3 separate regions of the Homo sapiens genome follow, and regions 2 and 3 are each linked to region 1. The links are contacts of gene promoters, found by promoter capture Hi-C in blood cells and fetal thymus (Javierre and others, 2016). All regions are on one chromosome and are shown on one strand. Each heading gives the region's core, a stretch centred on a gene start or on the middle of the fragment in contact. The rest is flanking DNA. Distances are from core to core; before and after follow the strand shown.

Region 1 (2,892 bases), core at 192-2,691:
TACTGAACATGTACAGACTTCTTTTCTTGTCATTATTCCCTAAACAATACAGTATAACAACTATTTACATAACATTACAACGTAACAGGTATTGTAAGTAATCTAGAGATGACAAAGTGTACAGGAAAATGTTCATAGGTTATATACAAATGCTACAACATTTTATTATAAGAGACTTCAGCATCCGAGGATTTTGGTGTGGGGGACACTCTAGAATCCATCCCCCATGGTTACGGAGAGATGATTGTATTTTCATTATCTCTTTACACTAGAACGTATGCTCCATGATGGCAGGGATTTCTGACTGCTTTCTTCACAGCTGTCCCCAGTGCCTAAAAAACCGACTACAGATAGATGCTTTCAAAACTGTTGGATGAATGATACTGAAATATTACAAGGCAAAATACATTATTACCTGAATACATTAAATATTATGAGAAGCAGAAATCCCAATCACCCACACTCACACAGTTTTGCAAAAAGAGACATCATAGTTTGTTTCTTAAAAATGCATTAAAGTCTAATTGATGGTTTTGTTAACATCATTCTCTCTGTGCCTAAAGAGTCCTAGGTCACACCTAAAAGGTACAGTTTTAGCTTCAGTAGGCAAACGGAAAAGAAAAATACAGGCTTTTTTCCTTTCATTAGTCATCACTGACAGAAGGCCTCCAAGTGACCCTGGTGCCACAAATGTTTAGGATCTTTAGGGAAGAAAGGAGTCTAGAAAAATAACAATATTCCTTCACCAATCTCGAGAAGAATCTCTCCAAATCTCTCTGCAGACATTTTTTCTTCATATCCTTTAACAAAGCCATTCTTAACATGTACATGAAATCTTAGTTGAAGAAACAATGTGATTACATAATTACACATACGGAAAAACTTGGTATTCTATTATCTCTCCAAATTTTTTTTTAACTAAAACTAGACTTACAGTTTTTGTTGAAAATGTTTTGTGTTTCTACCTCCGAAGAATATGAAAAAAAGAAAATGTTTTGCTCTGAAGCTGAGTTAAGAAGAAGATAGCCAAGACGTGGGTTGATGGGGACTGTATTTTAAGGCTGAACAGTTTTGTTTACTATTGTTTATTATTTAATATATTCTTCCCAGTCTCCCCACCCCCACCAAAGGAAAAGCGAAAAATTTACGTTAGTGCAATCAATAAGGAATTATTTGTCCAAAGGAAGTTGTTCTGAAAGGCTATGACCTAAGTCTTTAACACAAAGTTCAGGCGGTAGATGTCACTTCTCTCACCCATTTAACAACAACAACAAATCAAGATTCAGATCCCGCGGAGGCAAGCAGAAAGGAACAGGCGTGAAAAATGAAATCAGTTGTTTCTCCCCGGCCTCCTCTCGACACTGCGCACTCCGCTGCCCTGCCCCCGCCCATCGCCCTTTAGCGGCCCCTTTTAACGGCGTCGTTTGCCCAGCACAGCCCCGCACTGCGCCATCAAATGAGTCAAGCGGAAGGACCGGTACCCCTCCGGGAAAACCAGGCACTAACACACGGTGCACCCAACTGAATTTAAACTCGGGAACAGTGTAGGCAGTGTCAACAAAGCGCGGTGCTGGGTCCCGAGCGTCCAAAGGTCCCTGCCAGCTCCCAGACGCGGCCAAATCCACAGGATTCCAAAAGGTGACTTGGCCGGCACCGCAGAGCGGCAGGCGGCGCAGAGGGCAGAGTCCGACCGGTCCCCGCCCCGCGCTCGCTCCGCACGGCCACCGGCTCCTCCGCGGACGCTACCCCGGCGGGAGCCGAGCTGAGTCCGACTCCCCGTCTCCCGAAGAGGCCCGAAAGCCGCGTCACGTGCGGGGCCGAAACTTCGCGGCCGGGGCCGGGTGGCTGGCGGGTGGGAGGCAGGCACGGCGGTCGGGGGGCAGCCCGCGCGCCCGGTGACTCACCGGCCGCCTCCGAGTGCGGCTGCAAGCGAAGGGGCCGGCGCGCCAGGCGGGGTCCGTGCCCTTGGGGCCACCCCCGCGCCTGTTATTAATAACCCAGCGCCTGGAGGCGAAAGCCCCGGTGGGCGCAGCCGCAAAGCCCGCACGCGGAATAAATAACAATGTCATTAAATCGCGCCCGAGCGCCAGTTCGGCCAGAAAGCGGCGGGAGGGCGCCACCGGGAGCTGACTTTGTCTGGAGCCTGCACCCCGCCTCCCGCGCGTCCCCACAGCGTCCCCCGCGCCCCTGAGGGGGCTCAGCGCCGCCGCAGCCCTGGCCTTACCCGCCAGCTCGTCAGGCTCCAGCCCGCTGTCCGCGTCGATCCCGCACAGCACGAAGTAGTGCGCGAAGCGGCAGGCGGCCGGGGAGGAGCCCGAGCCCGGGCCGGGCGCCGCGCAGCTCCCGCTCATCCCGGCCGCGCTGCTCCAGGGGCCGCCGCCGCCGCCGCCCGGGAAGGCTTTCTGCGGAGGCTGCCACCACCGCTCCGGCTGTGGTCTGTGCGCCCGCCCTAGGGCGACACTGGCGCGCCCATGGCCGCGCAGCCGCCTCTCGCCGCCGCAGCCTGCCTCCTCGCTCGGCGCGGGGGAAGCGGCCGCGGGCTCGCGCGCGGCGGGTCCGGAGCCCGGCCGGGTGGGGGAGGGGCGCGGGGGGAGTGTCGGCCTGAGAGGCCCTCGCAGCCGCAGCTGCGCTCGCGAGCTGAGAGCCGCCGCGTCTGGCGCCCGCGGGTCAGCTGAGCGGCGCTCGGGCTGTGGGAGCGCGGGGCGGGCGGGGGCGCCGGGGCTCGGCGCGTGCGACGGAGAGGGGTGGGGGGCGCGCTCGCGAGGGACGGAGGCGCGCGCTTCTACCGTGCGCGCGCGCCTAGCGGGTTCGGAGGCCAAGCCTGGCGTGGGGCCGCATTCGTGCCCACTGGCCCCGGCTGCGGCATCGAGGGCGACCCTGCACACACCCCTC
Region 2 (2,892 bases), core at 207-2,706, 200 kb before region 1:
TAAAGAAGTTATAATCCCACAATTGAACACATTTCTCAGAGCTTTGTATGTTCTCTTTCCAGTTCAGCCAAGCTCCTGGGGTCTAGTGTTTAAAATACTCCAATTATATCATCTTGTGCGGACTGAAATTTTTTTCCAAAAGACTGGAAAAGTGACTAGCGATTCAAATATATAAAACAGTTTGTAACTTAAAAGATAGAAGTGAAGACTACCAGTACAGTAGGTAAAGCTGTGTGCATCCACAATACAAAGGATCAGACTCCAAGATGGATGGCTACTACATAACAATGCATTCTGGGTTTCTTTGTGATACCTGGAGAAAAAAAAAAGCCCGACTGGGTTGCACTATATTTACATGTTTACTGGCTTCTTCCTGGCTAGCACCACTCTTCCCCCCAACCCCCAACATTTTTAAGCTACTTATTTTAAGTCACAGGAATATTCAATCTAAGAAAAGCATCTTATTAGAGTAATATAATTTCTTAAAGAAGATAGCATATTTACACACATCTAACACATGAAAATACTCTATTTTATACTAAATTCCAGGTTCAAATGAACTACAATACAACATTTTGCCTTGTCTGTAGAGTGAGGATTGTTCCAAATGGGGCATATGTTTGGCTGCCCCTGCAGTGACTCACTACTGTCAGACAAGTCCAAATCGGTCCCCTAGTTGGGGAAGGAGCAAGGTTTGGACTGAGAGTTTCTAGCCAGTTGGGTTACACATCCACTCCTTTGATGAGTGATCCTTCTAGGACTATGGTGAAGTCCTGAATGGTCTGCAGAATTCGGATAAGGGAGTTGACAGTCATGCGGTCTCGCAGGAGAGCGCTCTCTTCATACATTCGAGTGATGGCAGGACACTCAGCTAACAATGGAATCCACTGTGGGAGCAGGCGATCCCTACAGACCCAAACAGAAACAATTCCTGAGCATTGCTGGCCTCGCTGCAGAACAAGGCACACAGTGGAGTCTGTATGAATGGGAAGGTGTGGGACTTGATGGTACAAAATGTATCCAAGCTAAGAGGTCAGGAGAGAGGAAATCAAAGCCAAGAAGTTGAATATTTTCTGGTAAAAAGACAGTGATGAGACAGTGTAAAGAAAGCTAAAGGGAAAACCCATTATTTTAAACCCAATTTAATGTACTTTAAGAGTTTAAAGTACATTAGAAAGTCTATGCACATTAAAGACATTCTCTATTCTGATTTTACCACCTTTAGAAAGAGGCAGAATGTCATTTTCTATGTCTTTTTTTTTAATAGGAGTGTTACTCTGTGGCAAGGCATGCCACAGTATACTGACCTTTTGGAAGAAAGACTACACTAAACTGTAGGGACTTGCTTTTTTTTTTTTTTTTTTTTTTAACTTATATAACATAACAGGGTGAGGAACAAAATCAAAGCAGAAAAACATTAAGTAGATTTTATAAACCAGATGAGAGTTTGCAATGGTCTAATAAATCAGAAGAGTATAGAGATAAAAGGAGATAAAGATCATGCTCAAAAGAAACTTTAAAAGCACAGCTAAAACTGGGCTCCTTTTATGAAGAAGAAATACAGAACTTAGTTCTGTAAACCAGCTGTTTCAGGAAGATAAAACCTCACATCTTCAATGTTTCCTGATCAAACCTGACATTAGTAACCCATTGCTAAGTTCCTAAGACATCCTTATTGAGCATCCCCAATCAGGCCATCTTCAGTCTCAAGTTGGGGCTCTTAAGGTTCAGGAAAAAACAAATACTACATGGGTAACTTAAAAAAAGAAATCTAAAGGTCTGTATGTTTCATTTCTTACAATTCTGAGATCTGTTTTAAAAGTAATGGATTGTATCGCTCCTATGTGCCACTTTCAAAAAATAAAGGGGTAGGAAATAGTCTTAAAGAGAAGATGATATTTATATAGCAAGAATCCCATAATGTTATTAAATGTAAATATAGTGGTATATATACACTATATAAGGTTTACTTAGTAAATATGTACAGTGTATGTGTCTAGTTATCTAACAACTTCCTTATTACCTATCTATCTGTCGAGCCAGTATACAGTCATGGTGGAGAGCTTGGGCTCTGAAGTGGGACAGGGTGTGAACCTGGCTCTGTCTCATTTTTCTGTGTGATCTTGGGAAAGTCTGCTAACTTACGTGTGCCTCATCTATTTTCTACTTTCTCATCTTTAAAATGAAAAAATCGGTTGCTACCTCATGTAGTGGTGGTGGTGAATTAAAGAAACCCAAGGGAGGAGGCAGAGGTTGCAGTGAGCCAAGATTATGCCACGGTACTCCAGCCTAGGCGATGGAGTGAGACTCTGTTTCAAAAGAAAAAGTAAAAGGAAAGAAACCCAAAGGAGAGCTCTGGAAGGGGTATGATCTGGTATAACCTTTTCTGGACTCTAGTTCAACATGTGACAAAGATAGGGAAAATAAAAAACTGGTTTTGTACCTTGTTCCAAGGCAAACTAAAATCTGGAATTTGCCATCCTTCCCAATGTTCCTGGGTGCAGTATTAATAGCATTTACGTAGTGGCAGAAGGTTTTGCAGGATGATTTCTGAATAAGGACATCATCTTCATTATCTAGAATCTGGTCAGTTGTTTCAAAATAAGCAACCACTTTCTCTGAGGAAAAAAGTCAGAATTATGTCACAATATGTGTCAACACTTCATATATAGAAAGATTCATCACTTAATTTATTATGGAAACACTAACGATGCTTTGCATACAGTCAGTCCTGAAGCCAATATCATTACTTTATCATTGATTTTAGGGGTCGATGTTTCATGGTAGAACAATAAATATGCTCCCAGGAATTTATTTTCTAATTTAGACTGCATTCCAGAAGACTGGAAAGTTTACTCCCTTTAAAATACCTTCAGGAAACAGAAACTGGCA
Region 3 (2,892 bases), core at 293-2,792, 140 kb before region 1:
CATAAGACCTTACAAATACATGATATTAGGTAAAATGCTCACTGTATGCACTTGAACTTTCTTTGCCACTCCACTGCTCTAACATCTGTAATGCAGAATTGACAATAATCACCAAAAACCAGCAGCTGTAGTATCTCCCAATAGGATGAAACTGGCAAAATCAATCCAATTCACAGATAATCCACAAATTTTAACTTTACTCAAAATTCACTAAACCTCCTAGAGCAAAACCATTTCAGAAGTCATTATACCTAATGCAGGAGGCAGAGAGAGGTGGTAGAGGCAAGTGCATATGTAACTATGCACTTGATTAACCTTTGAATAATTAAGAGTTCACACAAGATATTTTTGAGTTGAGTAGAAGAGGTGACAGAAATCAGAAGAAATGTTTGAGTTTGTTTACACTCTACATTTGGAATTTATTTTGAATAAATATTTTAAATATTTTTCAAGTAGATATAGAAAATTCAAGAGGCCAAGCATATGTATAAAGTTCTGATTATCCCTCAGGTATCTGTAGTAGACTTCAAACAGTATTTAACCTCTACTGTCCATACTCTCTTAATCAGGACAAGGTTGTTAGTTAAAAAGAAGGTTGTGTTTCTAGATTGGGGGGTGGAGTGCCAAAAGTGTAGCCCATCACATAAAAATAATATTGATTACATCAATGGTTGAACATAAGACATGGGGTGGAAGTTAATAAACAAAATAGGAAGCTTCACTATGTGTTTCTCCCTGGCTCCCCCACCCCCAGGCACCAAGGGGAAAATTCACACTGCTCTCTGATCCTAGACGGCAAAGTAAGGGGAAAGGGGAAAGCAACCAGTCGGGTCTTTGTTTTTCTCTTTTGATCCTTGCTCTTCATGTTAGATACCAATTAGCAAGCAGCATAGTGAAACTCTAAATTAAGCTCAATAAAAACTCAAAATGAGGCCTAGCATGGTGCCTCATGCCTGTAATTCCAGCACTTTGGGAGGCTGAGGCGGGAGGATGACTTGAGGTCAGGAGTTCAAGACCAGTCTGGCCAACATGGTGAAACTCTGTCTCTACTAAAAATATAAAAATTAGCTGGGCATGGTGGCATGCACCTGTAATCCCAGCTACTCGGGAGGCTAAGGCAGGATAATCACTTGACCTCAGGAGGCAGAGGTTGCAGTGAGCTAAGATCGTGCCACTGCACTCCAGCCTGGGCAAAACACAGCGAGACTTTGGCCAAAAAAAAAAAAAAAAAAATTTCGGTTTCCCTCCTTTCAAAGCCAGATGATCAACAATGATTCCTAAAGCCTGATGTAATCTTTGAATCCAGTCTTTTAATTTTGCAGATGAAGAAACCGAGGCCCAAGAAATTAGGTGACTTCCTGGCACCTGTTCCAAATGTGCACCCTCAAACAGCCTGGTGGCTTATGGCCTTTCCCTGCTATTTTTCCTCACCTCCAATGTCAGCAGTTTTCTCTAAATAAATAAAGAGCTGAAATGTCGCATCTTGCTGAAGACAGTAGCACTGCCTACACCATTCTTTTCTTTTCTTTTTTTGAGATGTAGTCTTGCTCTGTCACCCAGGCTGGAGTGTAGTGGTGCGATCTCAGCTCACTGCAAACTCTGCCTCCTGGGTTCGAGCAATTGTCTGCCTCAGCCTCCCGCGTAGCTGGGATTACAGGTGTCCACCACCATGCCTGGGTAATTTTTTTATATTCTTAGTAGAGATGGGGTTTCACCATCTTGGCCAGGCTGGTCTTGAACTCCTGACCTCGTAATCCACCTGCCTCAGCCTCTCACAGTGCTGGGATTATAGGTGTGAGCCACTGCGCCTGGCCGGCCTACACCATTCTTTACACTGAAAGGCTTAAATGAAGGTCACATAATTTGAATGGATGATTCAGTATCTTTTTTTTTTTTTTTTTTTTTTTTGAGATGGAGTCTTGCTCTGTTGCCCAGGCTGGAGTGCAGTGGTGCGATCTTGGCTCACTGCAACCTCTGCCTCCTGGGTTCACGCCATTCTCCTGCCTCAGCCTCCCAAGTAGCTGGGACTACAGGTGCCTGCCACCACGCCCGGCTAATTTTTTTTGTATTTTTAGCAGAGACAGGGTTTCACCGTGTTAGCCAGGATGGTCTCGATCTCCTGACCTTGTGATCCGCCCACCTTGGCGTCCCAAAGTGCTGGGATTACAGGCGTGAGCCACCGCGCCCGGCCAATTCAGTATCTTTAAAATGGAAGAAAAAATTTACTAATTTGCTAATCTAAATGTTAACCAGCAACCTCCCACCACTTAGATTTTGTACTATCACCTTCACTAATGCCTTCCTACTACCTTTTTCTATCCCTCTCCTCCTCCTATGAAAAGGGAAAATGATACATTTTCTGAAATTTTAAAGCTTATTATGGTCATGAAATCACTGCTGAGCTGAGTGTACTACAAAGTAGGAGTTCCAACACCATAGCTACTGGTCTGTCTTCATGATCCCACAAAAGTCTCCTATGTCTGCTTAAGAAGGGCCCAAGCTGGGGCTTTGATTATCTCAAAGTAGAACAGGAAATACAAACTGTGTTATGAAAATGTATTGAAGAAAACCAAAAAGCCCTTTCTCCAAAACAAACGAGAACTCTATAATAGGGCATTCTGATAAGTTGCTTCTCACTTTTAACACCATTAAATTAAAAAAAATTCAGAAGAGCTCAATAAGTATTACATGATAAAAATTTACTCAACACCTCAATCTGACATTGCTTTAGGACTAAATATTTCTACTGATCAACACTGCTCACAAGCCTTCATGATATGTAACTACTTCCTATTAAAAACAACAAAAGTGGGCTGGGCATGGTGGCTCATGCCTGTAATCCCAGCACTTTGGGAGGCCAAGGTGGGCAAATCACAAGGTCAGGAGTTTGAG

The links. The method cuts DNA at HindIII sites, captures the fragments that hold promoters and counts their contacts. A CHiCAGO score of 5 or more calls a contact.
Region 2: a contact is called between a fragment that was not itself captured here and the fragment with the promoter of DENND5B-AS1 in region 1, in 1 of 17 cell types (endothelial precursors). The highest score is 5.6, in endothelial precursors.
Region 3: a contact is called between a fragment that was not itself captured here and the fragment with the promoter of DENND5B-AS1 in region 1, in 1 of 17 cell types (endothelial precursors). The highest score is 7.4, in endothelial precursors.

Annotation. Positions count from the first base shown.
Region 1 is chr12:31,588,482-31,591,373 of GRCh38, forward strand. It overlaps DENND5B-AS1 (DENND5B antisense RNA 1), which reads left to right and starts at 1,442. Exons shown (of 3, transcript NR_046909.1): 1 at 1,442-1,638. DENND5B (DENN domain containing 5B) reads right to left here and starts at 2,655. Exons shown (of 21, transcript NM_144973.4): 1 at 2,225-2,655. The coding sequence starts at 2,351. RefSeq lists an enhancer at 1,176-1,255 and silencers at 1,686-2,025, 2,176-2,445, 2,516-2,805. The HindIII fragment of the contact is 7,998 bases long and covers 1-2,892 here.
Region 2 is chr12:31,386,881-31,389,772 of GRCh38, forward strand. It overlaps DENND5B (DENN domain containing 5B), which reads right to left. Exons shown (of 21, transcript NM_144973.4): 20 at 2,444-2,618; 21 at 1-906. The coding sequence ends at 723. Among named protein-coding and RNA genes, the nearest start is that of LINC02387, 19 kb to the left of the region's middle. The HindIII fragment of the contact is 3,687 bases long and covers 1-2,892 here.
Region 3 is chr12:31,452,929-31,455,820 of GRCh38, forward strand. All of the region lies in intron 4 of DENND5B (DENN domain containing 5B), which reads right to left. Among named protein-coding and RNA genes, the nearest start is that of LINC02387, 85 kb to the left of the region's middle. The HindIII fragment of the contact is 1,657 bases long and covers 715-2,371 here.